Regions from separate parts of the Homo sapiens genome. Here all the other regions are linked to region 2. The links are contacts of gene promoters, found by promoter capture Hi-C in human tissues and cell types (Jung and others, 2019). All regions are on one chromosome and are shown on one strand. The core of a region is centred on a gene start or on the middle of the fragment in contact, and the rest is flanking DNA. Distances in the headings are between cores, read along the strand shown.

Region 1 (3,566 bases), core at 939-3,438, 180 kb after region 2:
CCTCTTGGGTTCAAGCGATTCTCGTGCCTCGGCCTCCCTAGTAGCTGGAATTACAGGTGCCTACCACCACGCCAGGCTAATTTTTGTATTTTTAGTGGAGATAGGGTTTCACCATGTTGGCCAGGCTGGTCTTGAACTCCTGACCTCAAGTGATTGGCCCGCCTTGGCCTCCCAAAGTGCTGGGATTGCAGGTGTGAGCCACCGCGCCCCACGGAGGAGCCAGGATTTTTCCTTCCTTTCATTCTCCTATGCTCAGCTTGTTTTCTCTGGCTGCCTCTCATCATGGCCCCAAGATGGCTGCAGAGTTGTAGAAGTCACAGGGAGATGGCAATGTCCAGAGGCAAAAAGAAAAGTCCCAGCCTTCTGTCCCTTTTTAAGGGTGAAGAAAACCTTCCCTGAAGGCCTCTCAACCACTCTCCCTCATATCTTGTTGGTCAAAGTTGCATCACATACCTATTCCTAACTCACAACTTGGCAAGAAATTGAGATTGCCCTGGTGGGCTCACATCCAAGGGAACATGGGTGTGTGTGTGTGTGTGTGTGTGTGTGTGTGTACATGCTTACATATCTAACATTAATATAAAAGACATTTTATTCCAGTGTATTCTGATTTGGTTAGTAGTTAGTAGTTTCCTTTGGCAATCTTACACTAGTGAGCTGAACATCAAAGTGTACACATACATATACTTCTGTGTGGCCATATTAATTTATAAGATAACAATTTTAAAATTATATATAGTGAAGCCAATTATATTTGGGCATTTAGCATGTGATAAAAATTGCCTTTTAAAATGAGTAGGGGGTGGCCGGGCACGGTGGCTGACGCCTGTAATTCCAGCACTTTGGGAGGCCGAGGCGGGTGGATCACTTGAGGTCAGGAGTTCAAGACCAGCCAGACCAATATAGTGAAACCCTGTCTCTACTAAAAATACAAAAATTAGCCGGGTGTGCCAGCAGGCACCTGTAATCCCAGCTACTCAGGAGGCTGAGGCAGCAGAATCGCTTGAACCTGGGAGGCAGAGTTTGCAGTGAGCTGAGATCACGCCATTGCACTCCAGCCTGGGCGAAAAAGCTAGACTCTGTCTCTAAAACAAACAAACAAAAGTGAGTAAGGGGGAAAGATGAATTATACCATAAATGGTATTGGGATAACTTAGTGGCTGTCTAGAAAAACTATAAACTTAGAGCTACATTTCAAAGCATACCCAAGGATGAATTTCAAAAGGATAAAAAATTTCATTGCAAACAAACAAATTATAAAAGCACTAGAAGAAGCTATCAGAATGTTAAAATAATCTTGAAGAGGGGGAGATCGTTTTTACTAAGACACATAAATCAGAAGCTATAAAATTAAAACACTTGCATGGCAAAAACTATAATAAGTAAAGTGAAAAGACAAGACACTTGGAAAAAAATAATTGCAGCTTATATTACTAAGTATTAATTTCCCTATATATAAAGAGTTTCTAAAAATCAATCAGAAAAAGGCCAAGAGTCTGCCAGAAAAACTGAAACAAGGATATATATGATAGTTCACAGAAAAGGGAATACCAGTGGCTTTTAAACATGTGGGAAGTGATTAACCTTCCTTATAATAAGAGGTATGCAAAATAGATTATAGGGAGATACTGGTTTTGTTCACCTACTAAATGACAAATGATCAAAAACTTTGATAACATACTATGTGGGCAAGGATGTGGTAACACAGTCATTTTCATATCTATCAAAATTACAAACACATATATGTCCTTTAAACCAGTAACTGTATTTCCAAGAATTTATTGTGCAGACATACTTATACATGTACAAATATCTAATGTCTTATATGAAAAGTGTTCATCAATGCAGCATTATTTATAGTACCAAAAGATAAAACAACTGTCTGGGTGCGGTGGCGCATGCCTGTAATCCCAGCACTTTGGGAGGCCTAGGTGACTGGATCAATCACCTGAGGTCAGGAGTTCAAGACCAGCCTGGCCAACATGGTAAAACACCGTTTCTACTAAAAATACAAAAATTAGCCAGGCATGGTGGCGGGTGCCTGTAATCCCAGCTACTCGGGAGACTGAGGCAAGAGAATCGCTTGAACCCAGGAGGCAGAGGTTGCAGTGAACCAAGATCACACCACTGCACTCCAGCCTGGGCGATAGAATGAATCTCCTTGGAAAAAAAAAAAAAATCAAAGCTACAAAAATAAGCTTACTTTATGCTGTGTTTTTAACCAAATGCAAGTCATAATGACAGCCTCTGCATTAGTTCTGAGGATGTCCTTAAGAATGAATAAATATTATTTTTTCTTTTGTTTTGGGAGTTGTTTAATTTTCCCGAGAAAAATTGTAGCTCAGCATGTTAAGATAGTCTTGACTTTATATTCAACTTCGTGCTGGATCATAAAGTCAGTTTTTTTTTGTTGTTGTTTTGTTTTTGAGATGGAGTCTTGCTCTGTCGCTGAGGCTGGAGTGGATTGGCGCGATCTCGGCTCACTGCAACCTCTGCCTCCCGAGTTCAAGCCATTCTCCTACCTCAGCCTCCTGAGTAGCCTGGCTAATTTCTGTATTTTTAGTAGAGATGGGGTTTCACCATGTTGGCCAGGCTGGCCTGGAACTCCTGACCTCAGGTGATCCGCCCGCCTTGGCCTCCCAAACTGCTGGGATTACAGGCGTGAGTCACCGTGCCCGGCCGCATATGTTTTATTTTGAGGGGACAGAAGCAACTAAAATTTCAACAAAACCAATTCTTTGTGTTGCTCCCTCACTTCTTTCTATTGATCTAATAAACATCACATAGCACAGTGATGGTTGAAGACCAGTGGAAAAGAGAGAAAGTGAAAACTTAACAGGACTTCTTATTGTACGATTTTTATGTTTGCAAAGATGTGATATGAAATTTCATTTATTGCTGTCAAATATTGACATCTATCTGTGGACACAAAATAATCTTTTTTTTTCCTCCCCCACTGTCTATTTCCCTACCCAACCTTGCATTAAGAAAGCAATTGACAAACTAATGTATGGAAAGCGAATCTTTTGTGCTGTCTATAATGACCACATTTTCCTTTGGGCTCACCAAAGCCGTTCAAACAAGAGCTCCGTTGTCCCTTTCAGAAGAGAATAATAGAAAACTTAAATGAAACCTGGAGGTCATTTGACCTCTTAGGAAACGTGGAGGTAGACACCACAGCTCAAAACCCCGGAGCCTGTTAACATGTGACACATTGTACACACTCATATTTTTAGAGGAAAAGATGAGGATTTCTGCTGCCCTGGGAGGTTGTGGAATAATGCTTTCCTCATTTCAGGATTCTGAGCCTGTTTCCACATCAGAGAACCCATCAGATATATTTTATCCAAAACAAAGATAAAACTTGAGTAAAAATAATGATGATAATTATAACAGTAAGCATACCAGCAGCCACCATTTATTGAATGCTTAATATTTCATCCCCACTATGACCCTATGAGGTGGACATGATGATTGTGTCCATTCTACAGATGAACAAACTGAGGTTCAGAAAGGAAAAGCAGCTAATCCAGGAAGTCTTAAAGCTGGTGTTTAGATGTAGACTA
Region 2 (3,398 bases), core at 888-3,387:
AAAGGTCTAGAATGAATCAGAAAAGGCTAGTTAAGTTTCCCTGGTGATTGCAATGAACAGCCAGGGTCAGGACACCCACACCTGTTGGGCAGGTCTTCTTTAATTCATCCTTGCATCCCCATCAGCTGGAGTGGCTCCTGCACATAGTAGGCGTCTCATAATTGCTCATGGCACAAATTAATAACCACTGGATTTTAGACTCCACTGATCATATTAATTCATCACAGTATTTACGGAGGATGTACGATGTACCAGGCACTGTTCCAGGCATAGTGTTCAAGTCAATTGTCATCATTAAAACGAAGGAGGCCGGGCGCGGTGACTCACGCCTGTAATCCCAGCACTTTGGAAGGCCGAGGTGGGTGGATCACGAGGTCAGGAGTTCAAGACAAGCCTGGCCAAGATGGTGAAACCCCCGTCTCTACTAAAAATACAAAAACTAGTCAGGCGTGGTGTCGGGCGCCTGTAATCCCAGCTACTCGGGAGGTTGAGGCAGAGAATTGCTTGAACCCGGGAGGCGGAGGTTGCAGTGAGCCGAGATCTCGCCACAGCACTCCAGCGTGGGCAACAGAGGGAGACTCCGTCTCAATAATAATAATAATACTAATAATAATAAACGCAAAACAGAGAAGGGAGGAGTGAGGGAACTATCTTTGGGTCAGACAATCCGGAGTTCAATCTCCATTTTGCAGTCTTCCCTATAGCCCTTAACCTCCGTAACCTCCAGTTTCCTCCTCTGGGTAATATCAGTGAGGCCTCTTCTTCGGAGGATTCAGGAAGCCAGGGACAAAGACCCCACAAAATGGCCGCCAGCACCATTCTTTTTTTTTTTTTTTTTAATTCCACTGACACCTGGTGAAGCCACCCTTATGGTTCACTCCACCCGCCGCGTCTCCTGTTCCGAGCAACTGACGCTGCAATAAGCGGCCGCCACCGGGAAATGCCCAGAGAGGACCAGACGCCCGAGGAAGGGCGGAGCAGAGCGGCCGCAGGCCCCGCCCAACACCGCGCTCAGCCTCCCGCGGGCTCCAGCCTCACCTGCGCGGCCTGTGGAGCTGCACATCTCCAGGCCCCGCCCCCCAGAACTCTGATTGGCGGGTCTAGGCGGGGGCCGGGAAATCTGCATTTGCACCAGCGCCCACCCCCGTCCTTCCCACCCCCGCCCCTCACGCCCAGGTAAGTCTATGGCAGGCGATACGAGAGCCCCGCAAACCTCAACGCGTCACGCTGCCATCCTCCGAACAGGAAGACGGCGAGGCGCAAAATACCAACCCGTCCCCTCTTCCCAAATGCAGAAAAACCCTTGCCTGTTCCGCGCCTAAGCTGCCCTCGGGGTCTCCTACTGCGGGAAGGGCACAGCAGGTGGCAGCCCCTGTCCCAGCCGTGGGATTCCTTCCCCGAAATTGTGGGGGGAGAACACAAGGGGTAGTGTCACCAAGCGGCCAGTAGGAGACCCTCCCACCCTCCTGCGACTGCTGGTTCGGGTCCACCCCGGGCGGAGGGGGAAGGGGCCACCGGAGCGCAGGTGGTCTCGGCGCAGCCTCCTGGGGCTGGGACCCAGGGGCGCTGATGGGGTACCCCGAGGCGTAGGCCGCGCCCCCCTAAAAGCTGAGCATATCTGGGCTCCCGAGTAATGCTCCAAGCGCAGAGCTCGGTGTGACACTGACCAAATTGTTACCTCAGATATTAATTACGGACAGATATTAATTACGGAACAATAAAACGGTGAGAAAGCACGGCTGATCCGAATTCCGCGAGTGTGTAAACAGCACTGGGGCGGGCCCGGCTTCTCGGGGTTTCTAAAGGAAGGTGGGCAAGGAGGCCCAGGCAACCGGGCGCTCGAACCCCAAAGGGCCGGCATCAGGCTAGGTGCCGCCCGGGGCTGAAGCGCAGGGACCCCCTCCCCACCTCCCCGCCTCCCCAGCCCTGCCCCAGGCTCATGGCGCCGGGCGCGGCGCGCGGCCAACCTGTCAGGCCCGGCCAGGCTGGCCCGAGCGCCGGGCTCCGGGAGGCGCGGACAAAGGAAAACACGGGCCCAGGCCCACTCACCCGGCGCGGGGCCTGCTGTCCATCCGCTTCTTCTGGCGCACCGGCTGCAGCGGGATGTTGTCCGTCATGTCGGCGGCGCCGCCCGCCTTGGCCGCCGCGCCCCCCGCGCCGCCTGGGCCGCCGCCCGGTCCGGCCTCCGCGCCGCCGCCCGCCGGCGCCGCGCCGCCCCGGGGGAGGAGGCGGCGGCAGCGGGCGGGCCGGGCCCGCAGCGAGGGGGCGAGCTCGCGAGCGCCGGGCCACGCGCGGAGCGCCCGCGCGGCCCGACCGACGGACACGGGCGCACCATGGGCCCGAGCTCCGCGCTGCGCCCGCTCGCTCCGCGCCGCGCCGCGCCTGCCACGGGGGGCGGCCGGGCCGTGTCCGCGCCGCCGCGACCGCTGCAGTGTCCCCGCCCCCGGCCCGCGCCCGCGCCCCCCACGCGCGCCCACCCGGCCACGCGCCCCCCGCCCACGCCCGCCGTGCGCGCACCCTGCCACCGCACCCCCCGCAAAATCCCACATTCACAATCACATCCCAGCCCTATACACGCGCGCTGTGACACTCATCCCCACCAATATCTGACATGCACAATCACACGGGCACCCGGCCACGCTCACCCCATCAGTCAGTCATTCTCACTCACTCTTGCACCAACGTGCATATTCACGCCCAGGCCCTACACACACACCTGCCACTGCTCACTGCCTGCAACATCTAACATTCACAATCACATGTGAGTCCTGCACACACACATAACACTCTCACCCTCCTGTTGGTCACCATCATCCATGCACCCAGTTTCTCAAGCCTCACACCCATGTGCCTGCAGAAATCACAGTCACACAGGGACCCTCAGCTTATCAGACTCCTTCACCCTCTGACCTTCACCATCCTCACCCTCATTCTCTATCTGGATTCTGGGAACTCACCATGACACACACGCACCTGCCTCTTTCATCCAAACACCCTTCAATAGTCTGAACACCCTCATTCTCACACCAGCCACTTTCTTGGGCTTGCACATGGGCCCCACTCTCAGGCCTCAGACAGTCACCCTGCATTACCTGTCACTGTGATTCACGGTCTCACACACACACCTATCTCCACCGCAGCCCACATCCACACTCACTTCCACACCCTCCCACACAGTGTCTGGGACCCATGAACTTTTCAAAGGCCTGATAAAGTTATGAGAGCAGGAAAAAAAAAACAGAGGGAAGGAACAAAGTGAGGGAGTTTAAAAATCAATATGTAACTAAAGAGCCTGAAATTGTAATAATACCATATAAACTAATCTAAAGCTGACTTTTACATAGTTACATCTAATGACTGATCATGTTGGACGCCGTTTCTTTTTTTTCTTTTTGAAA
Region 3 (3,431 bases), core at 910-3,409, 240 kb after region 2:
TAGCTATGCGGCTTTGGACAAATTACTCACCTTTTATGTCTAATCTGTCAAATGGAAGGAATGTTCACCTGAGTTGTTATGGATTAAATGAGGTTCAACATTTCCTGATCTGAAATGCTTGGAGCCAGAAGTACTTCGGTTTTGGAATATTTTCAGATTTTGGAATATTTCCATTATACTTGAATTTGAAAACCTGAAATCTGAAATCTCCAGTGAGCATTTCCTTTGAGTGTCATGTGGGTGTTCAAGAAAGCTTCAGCCTTTGGAGCATTTTGGATTTGTGATATTTAACCAGTAATACATACAATTGCTCAGTGCCCAACAAAAGTCCAAGATGAGCGAAATTCCAAAATTTTAGATAAAGAACAGAATCTGTGAGCAAGATTTCACTGAGTGAGTTTTGAAAAAAATCCAAATGGGTCATTTGGAGCAAAATAACTAACAAGGATTCTGATGCCAAGTAAGGGCAGGCAAGCAAGGCTTGTGCGGATCGTCCTTGTCTCCTCTTTTCTCCTCTCCTTTGTTAAAAACAGGTATCAGGCTGGGCCGGGCACGGTGGCTCATGCCTGTAATCCCAGCACTTTGGGAGGCTGAGGCAGGTGGATCACCTGAGGTCAGAGATCGAGATCATCCTGGCTAACACGGTGAAACCCCGTCTCTACTAAAAGTACAAAAAAATTAGCCAGACTTGGTGGCGGGCGCCTGTAGTCCCAGCTACTTGGGAGGTTGAGGCAGGAGAATGGCCTGAACCCGGGAGGCGGAGCTTGCAGTGAGCCGAGATCGCACCACTGCACTCCAGCCTGGGCGACAGAGCGAGACTCCGTCTCAAAAACAAAAACAAACAAACAAACAAACAAACAAACAAAAAACAGGTATCAGGCTGGGCGCCGTGACTCACGCCTGTAATCCCAGCACTTTGGGAGGCCGAGGCAGGTCGATCACTTGAGTCAGGAGTTGAAGACCAGCCTGGACAACATGGTGAAACCCCATCTCTACTAAAAATATAAAAATTAGCTGAGCATGGCGTTGCCTGCCTGTAGTCCCAGCTACATGGGAGGCTGAGGCATGAGAATCACTTGAACCTGGGAGGTGGAGGTTGCAGTGAGCTGAGATCGCGCCACTGCACTCCAGCCTGGGTGACAGAGCAAGACTTCATCTGAAAAAAAAGGTGACCGGACACAGTGGCTCATGCCTGCAATCCCAGCACTTTGGGAAGCCGAGATGGGTGGATAGCCTGAGGTCAGGAGTTCAAGACCAGCCTGGCCAACATGGTGAAATCCCATCTCTACTAAAATACAAAAATTAGCCAGGTGTGGTGGCGGGTGTCTGTAATCCCAGCTGCTCAGGAGGCTGAGGCAGGAGAATTGCTTGAACCTAGGAGGTGGAGGTTGCAGTGAGCCAAGATTATGTCACTGCACTCCAGCCTGGGCAACAGAGTGAGACTCCATCTCAAAAAGAAAAGGAAAAAAAAAGGGGAGGGGGTTATCAAGCAGTGCATAGGATCTAAAATTTGATTTCCTTAAGTTCAAATTCTGGATCTATGACTTATTAGCTGGGTGGCCTTAAGAAATTTACTTAACCTCTCTGAACCACACTTTCCTCATCTGTAAAAGAGGGGCAATGAAATAGATCTCACATAAGGACTAAATGAGATCGTCTGTGGAGAGCAAGCACTCAGTCAGGGGCAGCGGTGTTGCTAACGAGACAGTGCAACCCAAAAAAGAAAACCATCATCTCAGTTTACTCAGCTTCTGCTTGCCACTGACGGTGCCGGCCACCACTTTCTGAAGGGCGTCTCTGCCTCATCCATGCAGATAAGATTGTGTTCATGGCCGGGCGTGGTTGCTCACACCTGTAATCCCAGCACTTTGGGAGGCCTAGGCAGGTGGATCACTTGAACCTAGGAGTTTGATACCAGCCCGGGCAACATAGCGAGATCCTGTCTCTACAGAAAATAAAAATTAGCCAAGCATAGTGGCGTGTACCTGTAGTCCCAGCTACTCAGAAGGCTGAGGTGGAAGGATTGCTTGAGCCTGGAAGTTTGAGGCTGCAATGAGCTGTGATTGCATCACTCCACTCCAGCCTGGGCGACAAACCGAGAACTTGTCTCAAAAAAAAGAGAATGTGTTCATGATTTAGTGCACTTACAAAGCATGGCCAGGTCACAGAACCAACTGATGTAGAACTCTGAATTTTCACACCAACACTGACACTTTCTGGAACTTTTCTTTTTTTTGAGACTACAGGTGTACACCACCACACCCGGCTAATTTTTGTAGTTTTTGTAGAGATGGGGTTTCGCCACGTTGTCCAGGCTGGTCTTGAACTCCTGAGCTCAAGGGATCCACTTGCCTCAGCTTCTCAGAGTGCTGGGATTACAGGTGTGAGCCACGCACCTGGCCTCTTTGGAACATTTAAAAAAGCTTATTATTACAATTATTATAATTGTTTTGGCAAAAATATTCGAACACACCTAAAAGTAGAGTGAATAGTACTACGGACCCTCATAGGCCATTATCCAGATTCAGTAATTAAGATTTTGCAACACTTACTTCAGAGAGTCTCCTCTCCTTACCCCACCTTTATATTTTAAAGCATATCACACTGTAGGATGACTATAGTTAATCAAAACATGTTATATGGTTTCAAATAGTTAGAAGGAAGATACTGAATATTCCCAGTGCAAAGAATGATACAAAGATGATGGACATGACTAACTACCCTGATCTGATCACTATACATTATATGTATCACAACATCACTATGTACCGCATAAATGTGCTCAATTATTATTTTAAAAGTTTTTAAAAAGTGTATCATATAATTTAAAAAGTTTTTTAAAAATGCATCATTGGGCTGGGTGTGGTGGCTCATGCCTGTAATCCCAGCACTTTGGGAGGCTGAGGCGGGTGGATCACCTGAGGTCAGGAGTTCAAGACCAGCCTGGCCAACATGGTGAAACCCTGTCTCTACTAAAAATACAAAAAATTTAGCCAGGCCTGGTGGCAGATGCCTGTAACCCCAGCTACTCGGGAGACTGAGGTAGGAGAATCACTTGAACCCGGAAGGCGGAGGTTGCAGTGACCCGAGATTGCACCACTGCACTCCAGTCTGGGGAACAAGAGTGAAACTCCGTCTCAAAAAAAAAAAAAAAAAAAAAAAGCATCCTTGACTTCGTGTCATTTTACCCTATACACTTAGTATTCATCAATGTTTTTAAAGTTTATTAAAGAAAACTCCCACACAATGCCATTATCTTGTCCAACAAAACAAACAATGTTTCCTTGATATCATCTACTACCCAAAGGTCCTCAGCATCTCAAAAATGCCTGCTTTACCCTGGATTTGATGGAATCAGGATCCAAGCAAGATCTGCCCCACTGCATTTGGTTGTCAAATGAAACCCTTTTCTATAAGAACTCTCAGCAGGC

What was found. The method cuts DNA at HindIII sites, captures the fragments that hold promoters and counts their contacts. A contact is called where the count stands out against the background at its distance.
Region 1: a contact is called between a fragment that was not itself captured here and the fragment with the promoter of ATP9A in region 2, in 1 of the 25 tissues and cell types used here (stomach).
Region 3: a fragment that was not itself captured here is called in contact with the fragment with the promoter of ATP9A in region 2 in 1 of the 25 tissues and cell types used here (spleen).

Annotation. Positions count from the first base shown.
Region 1 is chr20:51,946,295-51,949,860 of GRCh38, forward strand. No RefSeq gene overlaps it. Among named protein-coding and RNA genes, the nearest start is that of LINC01429, 85 kb to the left of the region's middle. The HindIII fragment of the contact is 4,362 bases long and covers 8-3,566 here.
Region 2 is chr20:51,766,253-51,769,650 of GRCh38, forward strand. ATP9A (ATPase phospholipid transporting 9A (putative)) reads right to left here and starts at 2,138. Exons shown (of 28, transcript NM_006045.3): 1 at 2,050-2,138. The coding sequence starts at 2,117. The HindIII fragment of the contact is 32,964 bases long and covers 1-3,398 here.
Region 3 is chr20:52,007,003-52,010,433 of GRCh38, forward strand. No RefSeq gene overlaps it. Among named protein-coding and RNA genes, the nearest start is that of LINC01429, 150 kb to the left of the region's middle. The HindIII fragment of the contact is 6,604 bases long and covers 1-3,431 here.